Linked DNA regions of Homo sapiens: all the other regions are linked to region 3. Evidence: promoter capture Hi-C in 16 types of primary human blood cells and fetal thymus (Javierre and others, 2016). All regions are on one chromosome and are shown on one strand. The core of a region is centred on a gene start or on the middle of the fragment in contact, and the rest is flanking DNA. Distances in the headings are between cores, read along the strand shown.

Region 1 (2,706 bases), core at 205-2,704, 1.7 Mb before region 3:
TGCGCCTGGCCTATTCAAATACACTATTTTCTGTAAAATACTACTCTCCCACCCATCTGAAAAATATATCCTTCCCACAAGGAACTGCATATGCTACCCTGAAAGGATTGTACGTATACTGGGCATCAGTAATCTTTTTTTTTTTTTTTTTTTGAAACGGCGTTTCCCTTTTGTTGCCCAGGCTGGAGTGCAATGGCACGATCTCAGCTAACCACAACCTCCGCCTCCTGGGTTCAAGTGATTCTCATGCCTCAGCCTCCTGAGTAGTTGAGATTATAGGCATGCACTGTCACACCTGGCTAATTTTGTATTTTTAGTAGAGACAGGGCTTCTCCATGTTGGTCAGGCTACTCTCAAACTCCCTACCTCAGGTGATCCACCCGCCTCAGCCTCCCAAAGTGCGAGATGACAGGCATGAACCACCGCACCCAGCCAGGCATCAGTAATTTTTAACATCTCCAAGGTGTTTCTCTCATGCAGTCAGAATTGAGAACCTCTGCAGACAGAATAGTCATTGCTCAAAGACACTGATAGTTTCCAGCCCTGATTGTCTATCAGAGTCACCTGTAATGGGAAGGTGGCCAAGTGAGAGAGAGAGTAGAGGGTCTCAGATGATTGGGCTGTTTTGGAGCAAAGGTCAAATTCTCAGAGACCTCAAAGAGCAAGCAGGTCATATAAATGTGTGAAGAGGGCAAGGTGTGAGAGGATAAAGAATGAAGTAACTACAGCATCTTAGAGAATGCATTCTCAATTATTAAAACACTCCACCTAGCCAAGTCAAATGTGTCAGCCCACTGAATTCAGCCACAGAGGTCATTATTGGTGTTGACCCATAATGTTGACTCTGGGTTTACTTAAAGCTTAGAAATATATTCTAGCAAGTGATTCTGATTATCAGCCAGGATCAAGAACCACTCTTACAGTTTTAGATCCTTTACTTTAAAATATATATATATAGTTGCTCTGTGGAAAGCAATAGGCTATCCAAATAGGACTGCAGAGATCTAAACACGATAGTATCTGATATGGTTTGGCTGTGTCCCCACCCAAATCTCATCTTGAATTGTAGCTCCCATAATTCCCATGAGTTGTGGGAGGGACACAGTGGGAGATAACTGAATCATGGGGGTGATTTCCCTCATCCTGTTCTCATGGTAGTGAATGAGTCTCATGAGATCTGATGGTTTTATAAGGCAAAACCCTTTTTGTTCGGCTCTCAATTCTTCTCCTGTCTGTTGCCGTGTAAGATGTGACTTGCTCCTTCTTGCCTTCTACCATGATTTTGAGGCCTCCCCAGCCACGTGGAATTGTGAGTCAATAAACCGCTTTCCTTTATAATTACCCAGTCTTAGGTATGTCTTTATTAACAGCATAAGAATAGACTAATACAGTATCCCTACAGAAATCTCAAATTGTTGTCTAAGTAACTTTAAAAGGATGCTTTAATGTCTCACCATCTCAGCACTCCTGAGACATTAACGGAGGACTTGAAAGGCAGGGGGGCCGGTCTGGGAACTGGAAGAGTTGCTTCCCTACTAAGCCTGACCATATCCCCACCAAAACAAACCCTGACACTCCTGCCCCAGCTCTTCTGCCAATTTCTTCTTTTGAGGAGGAACAAGAAGCAAGGGCGGCAAAACCTCCTGTAAGTTTAGGAGGTGATGCCAGGCAGGCTGCCCTCTAGTGGGGGGGGCCAGTGAGGCAGGGACACATGCAAAAGAATGACCTCACTCTGCCAGCTTGCTCCTCCCCACCCTAAGACCTGGTTAAAAATAGAGCCATTGTAATACAAACTCTACAAGGAAGTTCAACTGGGTTTCAAGTGAATCAGAACCACTTGGCAATGGATCAGGAATTCAGTTCACAAATATGAATATTCATTAGCACCTATTTTGGAAAGCCACAGAAGTCCTTGCAGGAAATAGCAAAATGGAGTCAGACCAGAATCCTGCCCTCAAGGGGCATAGAGGGTAGCAGGGAAGCTCAGGCAGGGAAAAGAGTGACAAAAGCCTGAAGTTATTTTCCCTCAAAGTCCAGGTGAAGCTTCGATGAGTTCCCAGAGGAAGGAAAATAACTTCAGGCTGCAAAGGAAAACCCAGCTTCCTGGCTGGTTTCAGGCCATTTACAGAAGGTGGAGAGGGAATGGGCTTTCCAGGAAGAAGGATCCGCATGGAGAAAGGCTTAGAAGATTAACGTTCTCTGGAAATCAGGCCTTGCATAGGAGGAGATAGGACAGAAATCAGAGCTTCATAGTGGAGAGGGAATGTTAGTGTAAGTTTGATGATATGCAATCATCTCTTACAAACAGAAAAATTTGTTTCCAAAGAAACCCATATTTGCCAAGGATAATACCAAATCCTGAAAATCTAATACTAAAAATCCCTCTGCATAAATTGAAAACATATATGCCCATGTAAAAATGTGTCCATGAATGTGCACAGCAGCACAACTCCCAAGAGTGGAAACAACCCAGCTGCCCTTCAACTGATGAATGGATCAACAAGATATGGTATATCCACACAATGGAATATTATTTGGCTATAAAAAGTAATGAAGTACTGATACATGCCACAGCACTGATGGACCTTGAAAGCACTATGCCAATTGAAATAAGCCAGTTACAAAAGACTGCATACTGTATGATTCTATTTATATGAAATATCCAGAACAGGCAAATCCATAGAGACAGAAAATAGACTAGTAGTT
Region 2 (2,700 bases), core at 48-2,547, 1.6 Mb before region 3:
ACTGAAGTGATGCAAAGAAATATGAGACAGCTTCCTTGTCTTCAGCATCCTTACTCTCTTCTAATTCAGGGTTGACAAACTACTAAAAGCCCATTTAGTAAATATTTTAGGCATTGCAGGACATTCCATCTCTGTCCCACCTTTCAAATCTGTAGCAGTGGCCGGGAACAGTGGCTCACACCTGTAATCCCAGCACTTTGGGAGGCCACGGTGGGCGGATCACGAGGTCAGGAGTTTGAGACCAGCCTGGCCAATATGGCGAAACCCCGTGTCTACTAAAAATACAAAAATTAGCCGGGCATGGTGGCGCATGCCTGTAGTCCCAGCTACTCAAGAGGCTGAGGCAGAAGAATTGCTTGAATCCGGGAGGCAGAGGTTGCAGTGAGCCGAGATTGCGCCACTGCACTCCAGCCTGGGCGACAGGGTGAGACTCCGTCTCAAGAAAAAAAAAAAAAAAAAAAGTCTGTTGCAGTGCAAAAGCAGCCACAAACGCTATGCAGACAAATGAGTATGGCTGTGTTCTAGTGAGTATGGACGCTGAAATTTGGATTTCATGCATTTTCACATTGTCACGAAATATTCTTTAAAAAAATTTTTCCAACCATTTAAAAATGTAAAATCCATTCTTAGCTCATGGGTCATACAAAAACAAGTAGCCGGATTTGGCGAGCAGGACATAATTTGCTAACCCTGCTCTAGGGCAAAGGTTTTTAACTATTTTTATAGTATAGATCCCTTTGCCTGTGTAATGAAGCCTATGGAACCTTCCTCAGAATAATATTTGTAAATGCCTAAAATAAAATAAATAAAATACATTAATAATGAAGTTCATATGTTATGATATCATGCTTTTAAAAATATATGTTGATATCTGTATTTCCATGTAATTGGCTACAAATTATATGGAAGGCTGGGTACAGACATTCAGCCTTCTTCTCATTCTTTTGTTGCTAAATATAAAATGTAGGATGACATTCTCCTTTAAGAGAAGTTCTCCTTTAAGTAACCAATTATATAGCCAATTATATAAAATTCTCCTTTAAGTAACCAATTATATGGAAATACAGACATCAACATATACTTTTAAAAGCATAATATTGTAATATATGGACATCATTATTAATGTATTAAATAACAAGATTTGCCCACAGGTATAATAACTACCATGATTTTGAGAGTGATAAAAATATATGATATTCTGAGATACTTGTTACAACTGAAATGTGACATGAAAATCAATGATTTCTATTGATGACAATGTCATGGGGAGTGATAATACTATTATGGTTTGTCACCTAAATTTTTAAAGGCAGAGAAATGTAAATTGTGATTAGAACTGCTAGAAGTAACTTAAAAAATGTATTTTTATTTTCCACCCAAGTTCACTGACCCCTTGGAGTGTATGCACAGAACCATCAGAGAACCTTTGATCTTAGGTTAAGCACCCATGAGAAATCAGTGACAAGACTCCATAAATCTGTGCATAATCCCTCCTTAATGTTCTGGAATCACAAGAGGCTAAAGCCTCTTTAAATTTGAACATTTCTTGAAAGGAAGAACTCATACCTGTCTCACTGACCAGCATCGGATGGTCTCAGACCACTTCCTGGCTATGTGAACTTGAACAAGTTATTTTCACTGAACTCTGGTGTGTCTATGTGTCTGTGTCCCCCCGCTTTTTTTTTTTTTTTTTTGAGACGGAGTCTGGCTCTGTCGCCCAGGCTGGAGTGCAGTGGCGTGACCTCGGCTCACTGCAAGCTCCGCCTCCCGGGTTCACACCATTCTCCTGCCTCAGCCTCCAGAGTAGCTGGGACCACAGGCGCCCGCCACCACGCCCGGCTAATTTTTTGTATTTTTAGTAGAGATGGGCTTTCACCGTATTAGCCAGGGTGGTCTGGATCTCCTGACCTTGTGATCCGCCCGCCTCGGCCTCCCAAAGTGCTGGGATGAGGCGTGAGTCACCGCGCCCGGCCTATGTGTCCCCTCTTTAAGATGACGGGAATAAAAATAATAGTACTTATCTTATGTTGTTGATAGGGTTAATGAGTTAGTAAATGTAAAACACTTGGAACAGAACCTGGCATGCAGTATAGCACATCATGCTCATTGTCATTATTCAGTGATGTAATTCTCTCTTGTTCTTCCTTCTCTGGATGCTATCAGCTCTTTCATGTAGCCTTCTCTTCTCTTCCTCTTTCTGTAGTGGGGAACAGGAAGCTAACCCAAGAGGATGTTTTCTTTCAGGTAAAAATTCAAATAACTTCAATCTTGGCTGGGCGCGGTGGCTCACGCCTATAATCCCAGCACTTTGGGAGGCCGAGAAGGGTGGATCACCTGAGGTCAGGAGTTCCAGACCAGTCTGACCAACATGGTGAAACCCTGTCTGTACTAAAAATACAAAAATTAGCTGGGTGTGGTGGTGCATGCCTGTAATCCCAGCTACTCAGGAGGTTGAGGCAGGAGAATTGCTTGAACCTGGGCGGCGGAGGTTGCAGTGAGCCAAGATCGAGCATTGCCAAGATCGAGCATTGCACTCCAGCCTGGGCAACAAGAGCAAAACTCCATCTCACAACAAAACAAAACACCCTTCAATCTTTGGAAAATTAAGACTTCAGGAATTCAGCGGTTGTGCTGCTGCAGAAACACTACAATGATTGCTTTAAGGAAAAGTTTGGAACATTCTTCCTCCTTTAAATGGTC
Region 3 (2,772 bases), core at 196-2,695:
GAGAATTTGGAGAGGGAAAAGGGAAAAAGAACAAAAGAAACACACACACACAGAGAATGAAGCCAGAAAAGAGCCACATAAATAAAATTCCTCCTATAAATGCTATAGGAATCCAGAGAAAAAGTTCCCGTGGTTTGGAAAATGTCAATAAAACTTTCCTGGTGGAAATGAGGTCGGCTATGAGGTATTAAGTTCAAAAGGAACTGGATATTTGGTGTCTCTAGTAAGACAGAGCTGCTTCAGAGTCTCCCCAGGGAAAGACGGTGCTTTGGGCAGGTAGTTAGTGTGGGTGAAGGTGATGACTGAAGAATCCTAAGGGCCCAGGCTTGTGGGAAGCCTCTCTCTTTCCGCACTTCACCAATTATCTCATTTTCATAAGGTCTGCGCTTTCCTTAATTGCTTCACTTCCATCAACAGGAACAGGGGAAAGATAAATACATTTCACCTTTTAATGAAGAGAATTTCAGGTAGTCTGTGGGAGATGTTTATAAAAAAAAAAAAAAAAGCTGGTAGGGGGCAGTGTCTCACGCCTGTAATCCCAGCACTTTGGGAGGCCGAGGCAGGTGGATCACTTGAGGTCAGGAGTTTGAGACCAGCCTGGGCAACAAGGCGAAACTCCGTCTATACCAAAAATACAAAAAAAATTACCTTGGCTGATGGTGCGCGCCTGTAATCCCAGCTACCTGGGAGGCTGACGTGGGAGGATAGCTTGGACCCAGAGGCGGAGGCGCAATGAGCTGAGATTGCCTCACTACACTCCAGCCTGGGTGACAAAGTGAGACCCTGTCTAAAAAAAAAAAAAAAAAGTAGTTGGTCTGTGAACTCACTTGCAAATAACTGGATTTTACGGACGCTTAGATATTTGGAGGTCCACAAGGGTTCTTTGGGATCCCCTATTTTCCTTCGCTGCCTCCTTTGTCAGAGTCCAACTCAAAGGGGAAATGCCCCTCTGGGATCTAACCGCCACAGGTGCAAGAAGGAGCAAATTTACATAGAAGCAGCCTGGGGAAAATAGTGCCCTAGATGAGTCTTCAGTTTGGGAAACGCTGAGCTAACACTTTAAGTACTTGGAAGAGTAATACTAATAATCAGTCGTGGCGAGGTTCCGCCCATTTGACATTCAACCCCCCATGAGTGCGCACAGACAAACCCACTGGCCAGGAGGAGCCAACACAAGGTCCTGGGCATCTCCGTCCCGGGAAGGTGGGTAATGCCCCTGTCGCTCTGGGCTCCAGGGCGCGCCCCCGCAGCTTCCCCAGCGGGGTCTGACGCCTCCGGGCCGAGGTGCGCCAGGTGGCGAGGGTGCCAGGCGCGGCCAAGTCGCGGCGGTCTGAGTCAGTCACCCAACTATGCTGCGGAACCAGGGAGGCCGGCTGGGCCGCCCCCGCCGTTGAGCTCCGGCTTCCCCCGCGCGGGGCGCCTGCTCCCCGCCCCCGCGGGCGGAGAGGAAGCGGCGGCCGAGGCGAGGCGCGGGAGCACCTGAGCAAGGCGCGGGCGCCGGGCTCGGCGTTTCCGGAGCTGAGCGCGGGTCCGCGGCCCGCGCTCCCCGCCTCCAGGTGCGGCGGCCGCGACACGCCGGCCCCACTAACAGCGCCGCCCGCGCGGCCGCCGCCAGGCAGCAGAGGCGACTGCGGACAGCCGGCGGGGACCGGGAAAGAGGAGGCCTGGCGCCTCCGGCAGAGGGGCGAGGACCGAGCGCCCAAGGCTGGGAGAGACGCCGGCGCTGAGCTTCCCAGCGCCGCCTCACCTCGCTTTTCGAACTCCGCGACCCGAGCGCAAGGCGAGTACCCGGGGCCTCGGGAAGGCTGGGCCGGGATGGCCCACGCGGGGGTGGGAGGACCCTGTCTGGAGGGGCTGGGGCTTTTCGACACTTCACCGGGTAAATTTCCTCAGCGCAAAGTGCTCGGCTCTGGTGTCCGCCCCTTGGATTTCGCTCCCGCGTGTGGGCGTCTGAAAGGAAACCAGAAGCCGGTAAGTGATCCAAGAACTCCACTTCTGGGATTTGACCCGGGAGGGTGAGGATCCGGATAGACAGCTGGACACTCCCTCCATTCCTCTCCCCTACCTTTAAATAAGAAGAAGCTGTAGTGAGTTTCAGGCACCAAGTTATTTACTCGGTAGAGATCATGAATTTGCCCGGGTGTCTGTGCTGCCCCGCACCCTGCTTGTTAACCACGTTAAGACGACTGGCCTGTTAATTAACTTTAATTACGATCATTTGGCTTCCACCTGCCTGAACCCGATACCTTACACGGGAACCTGTATGATGTGAGTTTACCAGATTGATCTTTCTTGTTTACTTTTGGAGACAGTTCTCTTGGGAGAAGTGGTGTCCATCCTATTTAATAAAGTAAGTTTTACTTTATCTAATTCTGGCTTGTTTTCTTAAACACCTCCTACCTTGAGGTGATCTGGAGTTATTTTGATTTGGGGAAAGGGTTCGTGGATTATATAGCCTTTGATAATTAGAGGAAAACACAAGAAAATAAGCTAATTTGTGTGGAATAATGACATCTTAGGGTGTTGTAAGTAGGTATCCTGATAGCAAATTCTTTTTTTTTTTTTTTTTTTTTTTGCAAGCTTGTCCTTGAAGTAGGCTGTTCAGTAGAATACAGCCTTCGGTTTAAAAAAAATCAAGAAGTGTATTGAAAATAAGCTATTTTTAAAAGTACATTTAATAGGATGTCATTGTTATTACTCATAATAGTATTGTACTTACAAGCTCAGTATTGATTTATCTGCACTTAAGCACTCTACACCCCCACAGGCCCA
Region 4 (2,700 bases), core at 52-2,551, 1.7 Mb before region 3:
GCCCAAGGCATTTTGTTTGTTGACTTTCTGGAGGGCCAAAGAATGATAACATCTGTTTATCATGAGAGTGTTTTGAGAAAGTTAGCCAAAGCTTTAGCAGAAAATCGCCTGGGAAAGCTTCACCAGAGTCCTTGTCCACCATGACAATGTTCCTGCTCATTCCTCTCATCAAACAGGAGCAATTTTGCAAGAGTTTCCATGGGAAATCATTAGGCATCCACCTTACAGGCCTAATTTGGCTCCTTCTGACGTCCTTTTGCTTCTCAATTTTAAAAAATCTTTAAAGAGCGCCAATTTTTCTCCAGTTAATAATGTATAAAAGACTGTATAAACATGGTTAAATTCCCAGGACCCTCAGTTCTTTAGAGACCGACTCAATGGCTGTTAACATTGCTTACAAAAGTGTCTTGAACTTGATAAAGTTTATCTTGAGAAATAAAGCTTATGTATATATGTGTTTTTTACTTTTTAATTCAATTTTTCCACAAAATGTTTTGAAGTTTCCTCATATTCTATGGAACATACAATAGAAAACAATCTCATGGCATGCTTATAAAATTGTTCCTTTACATGCCTCTTCTCCCAAGACATTACTCAGTGAATTAATTAGATGCTGGTCAAAGGGTTTCCTCGCAAACTGTAGTTTTGTGTTTATGATGCTGGCAGTAAATGCATATGTCTTCTCTGGCAAATGCAGTTAGTGCTGACCTCATCTGTTTAGAAGAGGCCTTAACCTGGAGAATTATTTCACCCAGCAAATGTTATAAGTAGTCAAGAGAATGCTCCTACAGCAGATAATCCTTCGCTATGAGATACAGTGACATTGGTGTCCCAAGAACAGAAAATCTATCACGCTGTTAGCATCATGGCCAGTGTGATTTACTGTTCTGTTTCCAACAACAAAATCACTGATTGAGGTATATACCTATACTACAAATTATTCTTTTATTAAATGAGCAGAGTAATGACAATTTGTGTTTGCAAAAATGGTATGCAAGCCAAAAATCACTTAAGAACTAATTCATATTTCAACCATGGGTTTTTAGCATATAGAGTAAGTCCAATTCTCTACTTGGGGAAAGACTGGAAGTCCCAATTACAGAATTTGGTTATAAATCTCTTTCTCTTGTCAGGCATCCGAATGACTGGCCAGAAGCCTATTCTCAGATGGCCGTAAAAGATTTTGGGAAAGAGTCAAATGTGTAAAATGCTGAACAACGATTCCACGCACAAACTCTCCCCAAGGAAATTCAGTCCAAATACTATATAGAGCTGGACTGAGGTACAGGCTGTTCAGTCCTCTCATTTTCATTCTGGAATTTGTCCAAATAATAGGAGCCATTAAGTTATACGTGTAGTTTTTAAAATGTTCCTCAAATATGACCAGAATCTCATCTTTGAAAGCTGAAGGCACTCATCTAGGTATCATGTTTCTTTTTACCTAAGACGTGAAATGAAATTAGCATATAATCTGCCTCTAGTAAAATTTTCTTGAATGAAAATGTTTTTATGGCTATAAATGCTTACTAAGTTTCAGGTCGAGTGCTACCTCATTTAGTCTTTCCAGCAACTCTATTGGATAAATACTGTAATTATCCCCATTTAACAGATAAGAAAACAGACTCAATTGCCTGAGGCCACCCAGTTTATGGGTGCAGAAGTAGGATTAGAGTACAGGAAGTTAGTCCCTCTGAATCTCCAAGCCTGATGCTGCCGTGCCCACTTGAGATGTGTGGACAATAACATGAAATGATTTATAATATGAGAGTTTGATTCTGTGAGTGAAATGGTGGTTTTGAGCTCCATATTAGCCTTTATTTCACAAAGCCTTCTCTACCCTTTGGGTGTGTGTTAGGCTCCCTTCTCAGTCCTTCCATTATGTCCTATACATAGATCACCTGGTCCTATTCCCCACTGATGCTCCTGCCTTCCTACAAGCCTCTGCTAATATCATCTCCAACAGTACCTGCAACAGCAATTCTGAATGACTAGAAGAACCAACAAATGAACAAGCAAAAGGGCATCTACTTGATACCAAGAATATTAATTTCTAAATAAGGTCCTTACACCCTAGAGAGTACATAAAATAACCTAATGGAGTGCAGAGAGAAAACTTTAGCATTTCTATCCAGATTTTAACCTTGAAAATATGAGAAGCTTTCAAGGCTTCACTGACAGTTAACAGGTGGATTGACACTCGCATCCTCGCCCTGTACATGTGGCAGACAGCTTGAATCACATGTGACTTGGCTTGCTTGGCACCCAAAACAACGGCAAGACTCCACAGTCCATGGGGTTAGCTGTGGAGCCCTGAGCCCAACTGAGAAAGTTGCTATTTGCATTATATTTTCAATTTTATCTAAGCTAATCCTCATAAAATGGGCAAGCATCTTCAAATGAGTCCTGCCCAGAGCTACAACGAATGCTAATAACAAAGCAAGCACAAATGAACGAGGAAAGAGCAGAACTTTTACCATGTCTCACATTTTTTTTCAGCCATATCATGTGATAATAACAAGCTAATCAGATCTGACCTGAGGTTTGCGAAAGAAAAAAACACAAAGAACCCCTGATCGCATCAAAACTTAGATGCATATCCAGCGTTCTTATCAATGACCTTTGCCTAAGTGAACATTATGCCTTGGGAAACTGGCCAGTAGCATTTTTACACAGTTTACGAATGACTATATTTTTCTTAAT
Region 5 (2,700 bases), core at 145-2,644, 1.7 Mb before region 3:
AATCACTCACTCACCTTATTCACTTTCGGGATGAAATGCAGCCACAGGAGGCTGGAATGGCTGGCATCTGGTCACAGAGCCAGGCTAGACACAACTAGACCTCCCCAGTAAGGACTGGTTTTTTAGGCAACACTGGGTCCCTATGATTTGCTTTTATTTGGGATAAAATCGTCCAGTGTAAAATTTCCTTATTAGGCTAAAACCTCTAAGCCCACTAAATTTAAAAAAAAAAAAGAGAGAGAAGAGCTGCCAGTGCCCACATTTCCAGGGACTTGCAGGAATTCTCTGAAACTCACAAGCCTTACCAGGTCTGCATGCTCGTGTTCAGCAGCAGGTGCTAAGTGACTGTAAAGGGCTGTGGTGCCCACCCTGGGGTCTTCATGCAGGGCTTGAGGGTAGAGTCACCCTCTGCCCCATAGTGACAGGCCAGCTGGGCTCCACTGCCTCCATCTACTCAGTCAGGATTAGCACAAAAACTTGTTAGAGAGGTTTAAAGAGCCCCCAGATCAGCGGAGAGGTACTCCAGGACACTGTGGACTGTTCTTAACACCCACACCCAAGCCAAATCTCTGGCACCCAGAATAAAAATGATGTTTTTGAGAAGGACAATATCTAAGTTAACAGTGTATAGTCAGTTCTACTTATCCCTGATCAAAATTAACCGTGAGGTTGTAAAGTGGGATTTACTACATTTGGGAAATTATTACCTCTGTATACCAAGGGGCTACTCAGAGGTTTACAGTTCCCCACCTGCTTTCTGGCAGGCTGACTCTGTGACTGCCTTCACCACCTTCCCCCCACCCACCCCCGCCCCAGGTCAGCAGCTGGGTCTCTCTCATCTTGGCAGTTGTGTCTCAAGTGCCTGCCACAGAGTAGAGGCAAAAGAAATAGATTGTGATCAACACTGAGCTTGAAGCGGCCAGATTTCTTGACCAAGAACGTCTGGAAACACCACACTACTCCCCCAAATAGTGTAGTTATTGCAAAACAAATACAGAGTTGTGTGGTCTGGTGGTCTAGTACATCCAGCTCTTTCCTTGGGGAAAAATATCCAGAGACCACATTCTCAGCTGATTAACACACTAGAGAATTGACAAAAATCAAACTTTGGTACGATGTTCTTTCAGTTACACCAAAACTGGATGGCACAGACTTGAAGGGCTGCTTTTACTGAAACACTAGTGTGATAAAAATCCCTATGTATTATATTCACATATTTCTGGAAATGGAAGGAGAATCCCTTCCCTTCACCTGGAAATTCAGGAATACAGCTTTTTCTGGAACCGTAAGAAGGCTTTGGCCTTAGATGTACTAGCAATATTTCATGCTTATTATACAATTAATTGATTAATAATCAGTACACAAGGGGCCACAAACTCCTTACTCATAAGCGGGCTTTTGGTTGTGTTTCTGAAGTCAAATTTTACAAGTTCTAATACAGGGGTATCCAATCTTTTGGCTTCCCTGGGCCACACTGGAAGAATTGTCTTGGCCCACACATAAAATACATTAACACTAATGATAGTTGATTAGCTTAAAAAAAAAAAACTCAATGTTTTAAGAAAGTTGATGAATCTTTTTTGGGCCACATTCAAAACCATCCTGGCCTGTATGTAGCCCACAGGCCGTGGACTGGACACTTGCTCTAACATTTTAAACTTGGAAACTTACATATTTCTTTTAAAAGCCTAACACAATAGAGACTGTCACAATAGACCAGTGTAAATGTCCCTAAGCAAATAACGTCTCAAAAATCTGACAGTTTATTTCCACCTAATGACTGGTTTCCTTTGGGCCCACCCTTTAAAAAGAACTTCCGCAAAATACCACTTGGCTAATTCTCTGCCTTGGGCAGTCCTACAATTATAAATTCTGCTAAACAAATAAACTTCCTTCCTATTTTTAAAGTATTCCAAAATTGGAAACTCTGTGTCTTTGGTTGGCAAACTATTTTCTGGAGTCTAACAGCCTTAGCCATGAAGAAATTCTTCATTGCACTCTGAGAGACGAAAAAAACCAGAAACTGTCAAGGAGTCCCTCCCTACACCTATTTCAGGGAAGGGGAACTAACCCCACAGAGTTGTGACCTTGGGCAAGGTCACACAGGCTGCTGGTGGCAGAAGCCAATGTCCTCCTCTCTCCCCCATTTTCCCCTTAACTGATCTAAGTTACTTGTGGCCTAAAGAAAGCAGTTTGCTCTTGTTCTGTACTAGGGAACAGGGTTTATGTTTAATTCATGCAGAATGTGCTAGAACAACAGAAAGAATCTAAATATTAGTGTCAGCAAAAAGAATCAATCTCCGTAAAACATTTAAAGAGATTTATTCTGAGCCAGATGTGAGGACCACGACCCATGACACAACCCCAGGAGGTCCTGAGAACACGTGCTCAAGGTGGTCGGGGCTATAGCTTGCTTTATACATTTTAGGGAGACATAAGACATCAATCAATATATGTAAGGTGTACATTGGTTTGGTCTGGAAAGGTGGGACAACTTGAAGGTGGAGGGGAGGTTGCAAGTCATAGGTGGATTCAAATATTTTCTGAGTGGCAATTAGTTGAAAGCGTTATTATCTAAAGATCTGGAATCAATAGAAATAAGTGTGTAGGTTAAGACAAGGTCATAACCTGGGTGAAGACCAAGGTTTTTATCATGCAGATGAGGCCTCCAGGTAGCAGGCTTCAGAGATCTTATCAGAC
Region 6 (2,708 bases), core at 16-2,515, 1.9 Mb before region 3:
GTGAGACACAGGGGGTCTTAAATCGGGAGATCATTTGGGTGCACAATGCAGGAATGTGCTTGAATTCAGAGTTGAAGGAAGGACTGCAGGAAGCTTTGCTTGGGAGGAAGGGCCTCCTAAATTTGTCTGATGACACTTGGGGACAACATCTTCATCCTTTAAAGCATTTGTACCGTTTTTTGGCTTTGGAAATTTTTTTAAATCACATCTAATTTTAAAACAATAGTAAAGAAAAATGTTACCTATAAACCCACTGCCCCAAACCAATTATTTTTATTTTGCCTGTCTTCCGGTATCTTATACATTTACATTCTGGAATTTTTTAAAACAAAACAAAACAAAACAAAACAAAAAAACAATAACTCTCCTTGGAAAAGTGAGCAAATGTCCTGCATTTGAAAACCTCCCTAGGAGACAGTGAACTGTTGGAGCCGCCCAGCGCAGTGAGGCAGTAGCCTAGCTCACTACACTGTAGCCCACGTCCTTTCAGTGGGACTTTTCTCCTGCCTCTTCCTTCTCTCCTCTCCTTTTTCAAGCCACCTAGAAACAGGCAAGACGTTTTATCCGGCAGGAAATAGGAATCTTAAATTCAGCTGACTCTATTACTTTGCACTGTATTCGCTGGGAACAACACAAAGGAACTGCTTTTCTTTGAGGACATTTCAGCAACCCTCTTATTGCGTTACTGTGTATTGGAACTCTATTTGAAACTAAACTTCATGATCTCAAAGTGCAATCTTCCTATGTGAGCTTGCACTGCATCTCTTTTTCCAGCCACCTTTGTCTTTGTCAAGGCTGAGCCTTCTCAACTTTCTTCTGGAAGGCTGCGGTCCTCCAGTCGTGGCTCCGCTACATTCTATGAGTAACGGGTAAAGGGGACGCTGAAGGCTGATGACAGTGCTGTGCAGAACAACAGCACAGACAGACTGGACACACTCATCATCACGCGGCATCATGTCACCTGAATAGCTGGAGATTTTCCTGGCCACAGAAACAATCTTGTTTTCAGTCTATTTTCATCCTAAAGTCTCTCTGAAGCCTTCACTATATTGCAGGTGGCTTCTGTGTTTTTTGCCAAACCCTTAGTTTTTATACTCCTCCTCCTCCCTCATCTATTTGGCAGCATGTCCTATAGAAAAACATCAGAGGCTGAACACTGCAGCCTCCTCCTCCATCAGGAGCAAGCCAGGTCCTGTTTTTTAGATTTTTCTTCCCCCAAAGGTAGATGTGATGAGAAAGTGAACAGAGCAAGCGTCTCTCCCAGGGCCCTGCTGTACTCAAGCTAGAAAAATACAGGAAGGGGCTATTGACATTATGTGACACCAGGTAGAAGAACTGCCATTCAGCAAGGTGTGAGTATCATGTGAAGGTTAAGGCGCACACATCACTGGCAGCCGCCCCTCCAAGGAGCAGATACATACTTAATGCCAGGTAACCTATTAACTAATATATGAGCTAAGGTGGTGCAAACTGAAATATTTTACTTAGTCAACAAAGTTCTACATGTTTTTAGAGTTTATCCAGACTTAAAGGCTTATAATGAAATGGGCCCTAGGCCAAAAAAGACTATAGTGACTGAATGGCAGGCTTTGAAATATAAAACTAAGCTATCTCCATCACCATTCTCTAAGTCATCAGTGCTAAAAATAGAAATGGTTTGTAAAAACCTATCTTTTCTGTTTTTAAGTACTGAAAGATGGGATGGACTGTGGAAAAAAAAGCAGTTCTTGCAAAGTGACATCACAAGCCAGTGCGGCCTTGAGATCCCACTTCCCGCCTCTAATCCCAGGAGCCCTTGGCCAGCTGGACAACGACCCACTTAGCACAGCAGGAGTCTGTGGGATCCAGGAATGATGTAGACACTGGCATCTCTATGCATAATGTTTATGAAACTCCGAGTCTCACCACTGCCTACAAAGTCTACAGAAAAATATCTTACCTTTACAAGCTGCAGCTTTGATTTATGAAGTCATTAGAGTGAGCTTCAGAGAGCTTCAAATTACTCTGCAATAGAAGGGCTATCATTTCCAAAGTGGAGTCTGCTTGTTTGTTAACGTCTTTTTACCCATTTATGAGCCGAAGGAAAAATTTCTCTTCCAGAGCCCCAGAACTTTCTGCAAGCAGCAGCTCCAGTGCCTGGGGCCCCAGGGCAGAGATGACTCAGTGATGACCCCTCAGCCCTCCAGTCTGTGGTCAGCCTGGTTGCCTTGGTAGAATTTTCTTCACTAACCAAGTAATTTAATGCCTGAGCTGTTTACAAACCATTAACAAACAGCGCTCCCTCCTCCCCATTTCCATCCTCACTCCTCTTCATGACCCTGTATGAAAATCATAGCTAAAATGTGGAGAAAATGTAAGGAAGGTAGATTAATAATTTTCTTTTAATTTCCAGTGTTAGAGAAGTCAAAAACATAGAAGTTATTGGCAAGAAAGCTTAAAGCCTAGAGCTTGAGATTTTAGTTTCTGTAACTCTTTTGTTAATAAACTAAGCACACAATTTTGAGGCTTTTAGTTAATCTTTTTTTTTTTTTAACCATGGTATAAACCTTCATGAACTCTCACTAAAGATATGCTCAACCAGGAGATAGCTTTTTGTATCTATTTTAATTTAGTGATTTTATTTTTTCAGGGACAGAAAAGAAGGAATATGAATTCTTATAGTAAAGCAAAATGGGAAACTCTTTAAAGGTTCTTGTAGATAAAAGTGA
Region 7 (2,775 bases), core at 105-2,604, 1.8 Mb before region 3:
GGGGCATGTTGAGAGCCTGAACTGAGAAAGAACTAAGCACTGAAGGCTGAGAGGAAGGCTGAGAGAAAGGCTGAATGAAAGATTCTGGAAGACAGGACTAACAGGATTTGGTGGTGACCTGGATAGGGGGCTGAGGATATTGAAGATGGGGCGTGGTACCCAGGGCTCTGGCTTAGGCTTCTGTGTGGATGACTGTGCCATTAGTTCACAGAGGGAGTGCAGAGTGGAGAAGGTTTGGGGAGACAGTGCAATGAGTTCTGCTTTTGTCTATGTTAAGACCAGGAGGACTTGAAAGTAAAGGCATCTAGCTGGGTAAGTGGGCCTAGAGTCCAAGACAGGGAGTCTAAGCTGGACATGAGCAGCTCACATCCGGGAGGGAAAGTAAAGGAAGGGAGTGCCAAGACAGGCTCCTGGGATACCCCAACATTTCAGGTGTAGAGAAACTAAGGAATCGCAGGCAGAGAAGATGGGGACCTGGGGGGAGGCAAGGATGAGGTTAGAGACGCCCAGAAAGGGGACACTCCATCTTCAAGAAAAGGAGTCAGCAACTTACAACAGGATAAGGGCTGAGAGAGCTGGCTGGAGCTTTGGCTCATACAGATAAGTAAAAATAAATAAGGCGGAAGACAATACTAAACCCCCAAAATAAACATGCCTAACTGAAAAATGTCCTCAAGTAAAACTTTATTTAGTCTAAAAGAACATATACTTCCAATTACAATATTTACTGCAAAACACAGATCCTTTTTGGGCAAATACACTGAGGCCAGTGGATTTATTCCCACTGATATGATCTGGGTACTTTTAGTGAAAATCTTTTTTTAGTTTTGTTGGAGCAATAGTATCTACGTCATTTCTGTTTGCAGACGAAGTAAATCAAAACCAACTATAGCACAAACAAGAACCCAAAAAGCATCTTATTGGGACAGATTCAATAAGGGTGTGGGGCTTAGTTTTAATTTTCTTTTAATGAAGAAACAGGCCTTATTTAGATACATAAAAATTAAACTCCTCTTCTGCCAACCTATTTGAGTTTATACTAAAACTCAATTTTGAAAGTAAGTCTGCATTTTGCTCACAACCAAAACAAGTTTCTTTGTTCACATACTAACAAATGCACAGTAATGTATGAAGTTTCTGAAGCATGCATAAGTGAATACTGTTTCATATGTAGCCAGATAATGACATCCCAAGAGAATTAGAAATATTCAGTTCTGTAAATAAAGTCCTTATTTAAACATTTGGGTCAACTTGCTTTTTAAGGATTTAGGGATTATAAAGGATTATAAATACACTGCAAGTGTAATTTTATTCACAAGGATTTAGGAAAGAGCTCCTGAAACAATATTTAGAATAAAAAGTCATTTTACTTTACATTTGCTGCTTTGTTTTTCTGTCAACAAGTAAGAAACAAATATTAAATAAGTCTGAAGCACTGTGTATTTAAAATTCTAGCATTTTTCCCGTTATATGATGGTAACACATTCTAAGACTTCAAAAATATGGCCGGACACATTGTGTTTTTTCCCTTAGATGAAATGCTTTCTCATTGTAAGGAGTTCAAATGAGCACTTCACACAAAAAAAATGCTACGTAATCATTGTCCAGAAGGAACAGATTTGTGGCTTGTTTTTATTGACAAGCAGTTATTTGTATTTGTTGGTCGTAAGGTATAAAGGAAGGGGGTAAAAACTAAATTAAACCAAGTATTTCCTCACTCTATCTTACATGCCTTAAATTTCATGCAAAACACTTGAGAAAATATGAGTGCCTATTACTTAAATCATTTAAACAGAAAATACCATCAGTTGCTATCTAGATAGGACACAGGTAAACATTCATATTATGCAGCAGCTCAGCCTGACAGGACTAGATTCAATCATGAAGATTTGAATATGCCTCCTACAATGAGTAAGACATGATTCCCTCTGACTTTAGGAGGCTCACGCATATGTGATTTCCAATATAAGGTGACAGGTGCCAGAACACAAACATGGGCGAAGGCACAGAAGGCCGCTCCTGTGCAGTGGTCTGTCTTGGCTCTTTTGCTTCATGCTGTGGTGATCTAATGCCTCAATGCCTGCTTCATGCTTACAATTAGACAACAGGTCAGATTAATGTGTTACATCTTGCCAAGGAGTGATCAGGTGTCCCTGTTAGCTGGCTGAGGAGGCATCTGGGCATAGGTGAAGTGCTAATGACTGTTAGCCCCTGACACAGGGGCCCCTTTTTCATCCCCTCTGCCTTATCTTTCTGTCCTTTGGGTCTTGATCTTTCATCCCATGTAAAAAAGAAGTAGCATTATTCAGCTTCCCTGGTTGTGAAATGGCAAATTGGATAAGCTGTTAGTAGCTTTTAAACCCCACAGAGATGGTCTATGCAAACACAAAACATAGTTTGTACTCCAAAATAATTGTTTAAAAGATTCACTACAACCTTCTGACTGACCAACACCTTTCTACAAACATTTAAAACTATGAAACCACAAAAGAAGTAATCGAATGGCTGTAGGAGCTAAAAGAGGGTGGGAGGAGGTGAGAAAGAAAAAGGAAGATTGCACTGTAAGGATACGAAATTATTTCGTAGGTTTTCTAAAATAGTTTTTAAAACTTAAAATGTTGGGTGGCCAGCATAAATATAGATAGACTTCATGGAATCACTGAATATTCAATCTGGATGAGAATATAAGTCCTCAAAGTCCAGCCCCTTCACTGAAAGCACTGATTCTCAACTCAAATGTGCCTGCACATGGGAATGGCCAGTATTTTCAAGCCC

The links. The method cuts DNA at HindIII sites, captures the fragments that hold promoters and counts their contacts. A CHiCAGO score of 5 or more calls a contact.
Region 1: a fragment that was not itself captured here is called in contact with the fragment with the promoter of ARAP2 in region 3 in 2 of 17 cell types (M0 macrophages and M2 macrophages); the score reaches 8.1 in M0 macrophages.
Region 2: a fragment that was not itself captured here is called in contact with the fragment with the promoter of ARAP2 in region 3 in 1 of 17 cell types (M2 macrophages); the score reaches 6.0 in M2 macrophages.
Region 4: a fragment that was not itself captured here is called in contact with the fragment with the promoter of ARAP2 in region 3 in 1 of 17 cell types (M0 macrophages); the score reaches 7.9 in M0 macrophages.
Region 5: a contact is called between a fragment that was not itself captured here and the fragment with the promoter of ARAP2 in region 3, in 1 of 17 cell types (M2 macrophages). The highest score is 6.3, in M2 macrophages.
Region 6: a contact is called between a fragment that was not itself captured here and the fragment with the promoter of ARAP2 in region 3, in 1 of 17 cell types (M2 macrophages). The highest score is 5.9, in M2 macrophages.
Region 7: a contact is called between a fragment that was not itself captured here and the fragment with the promoter of ARAP2 in region 3, in 1 of 17 cell types (M0 macrophages). The highest score is 6.6, in M0 macrophages.

Annotation. Positions count from the first base shown.
Region 1 is chr4:37,969,929-37,972,634 of GRCh38, reverse strand. All of the region lies in intron 2 of TBC1D1 (TBC1 domain family member 1), which reads right to left. Among named protein-coding and RNA genes, the nearest start is that of PTTG2, 11 kb to the right of the region's middle. The HindIII fragment of the contact is 1,183 bases long and covers 863-2,045 here.
Region 2 is chr4:37,879,023-37,881,722 of GRCh38, reverse strand. No RefSeq gene overlaps it. Among named protein-coding and RNA genes, the nearest start is that of TBC1D1, 11 kb to the left of the region's middle. RefSeq lists an enhancer at 1-435. The HindIII fragment of the contact is 2,866 bases long and covers 1-2,700 here.
Region 3 is chr4:36,243,187-36,245,958 of GRCh38, reverse strand. It overlaps ARAP2 (ArfGAP with RhoGAP domain, ankyrin repeat and PH domain 2), which reads left to right and starts at 1,445. Exons shown (of 33, transcript NM_015230.4): 1 at 1,445-1,780. LOC439933 (a long non-coding RNA gene) reads right to left here and starts at 1,843. Exons shown (of 5, transcript NR_122079.1): 1 at 1,748-1,843; 2 at 649-787. RefSeq lists a silencer at 1,070-1,649. The HindIII fragment of the contact is 5,605 bases long and covers 1-2,582 here.
Region 4 is chr4:37,903,003-37,905,702 of GRCh38, reverse strand. All of the region lies in intron 2 of TBC1D1 (TBC1 domain family member 1), which reads right to left. Among named protein-coding and RNA genes, the nearest start is that of TBC1D1, 13 kb to the right of the region's middle. The HindIII fragment of the contact is 1,716 bases long and covers 444-2,159 here.
Region 5 is chr4:37,989,168-37,991,867 of GRCh38, reverse strand. The region is part of intron 2 of TBC1D1 (TBC1 domain family member 1); the gene reads right to left. Among named protein-coding and RNA genes, the nearest start is that of PTTG2, 30 kb to the right of the region's middle. The HindIII fragment of the contact is 6,203 bases long and covers 1-2,700 here.
Region 6 is chr4:38,119,340-38,122,047 of GRCh38, reverse strand. All of the region lies in intron 19 of TBC1D1 (TBC1 domain family member 1), which reads right to left. Among named protein-coding and RNA genes, the nearest start is that of PTTG2, 160 kb to the right of the region's middle. The HindIII fragment of the contact is 2,340 bases long and covers 96-2,435 here.
Region 7 is chr4:38,008,038-38,010,812 of GRCh38, reverse strand. The region is part of intron 2 of TBC1D1 (TBC1 domain family member 1); the gene reads right to left. Among named protein-coding and RNA genes, the nearest start is that of PTTG2, 49 kb to the right of the region's middle. The HindIII fragment of the contact is 5,234 bases long and covers 1-2,775 here.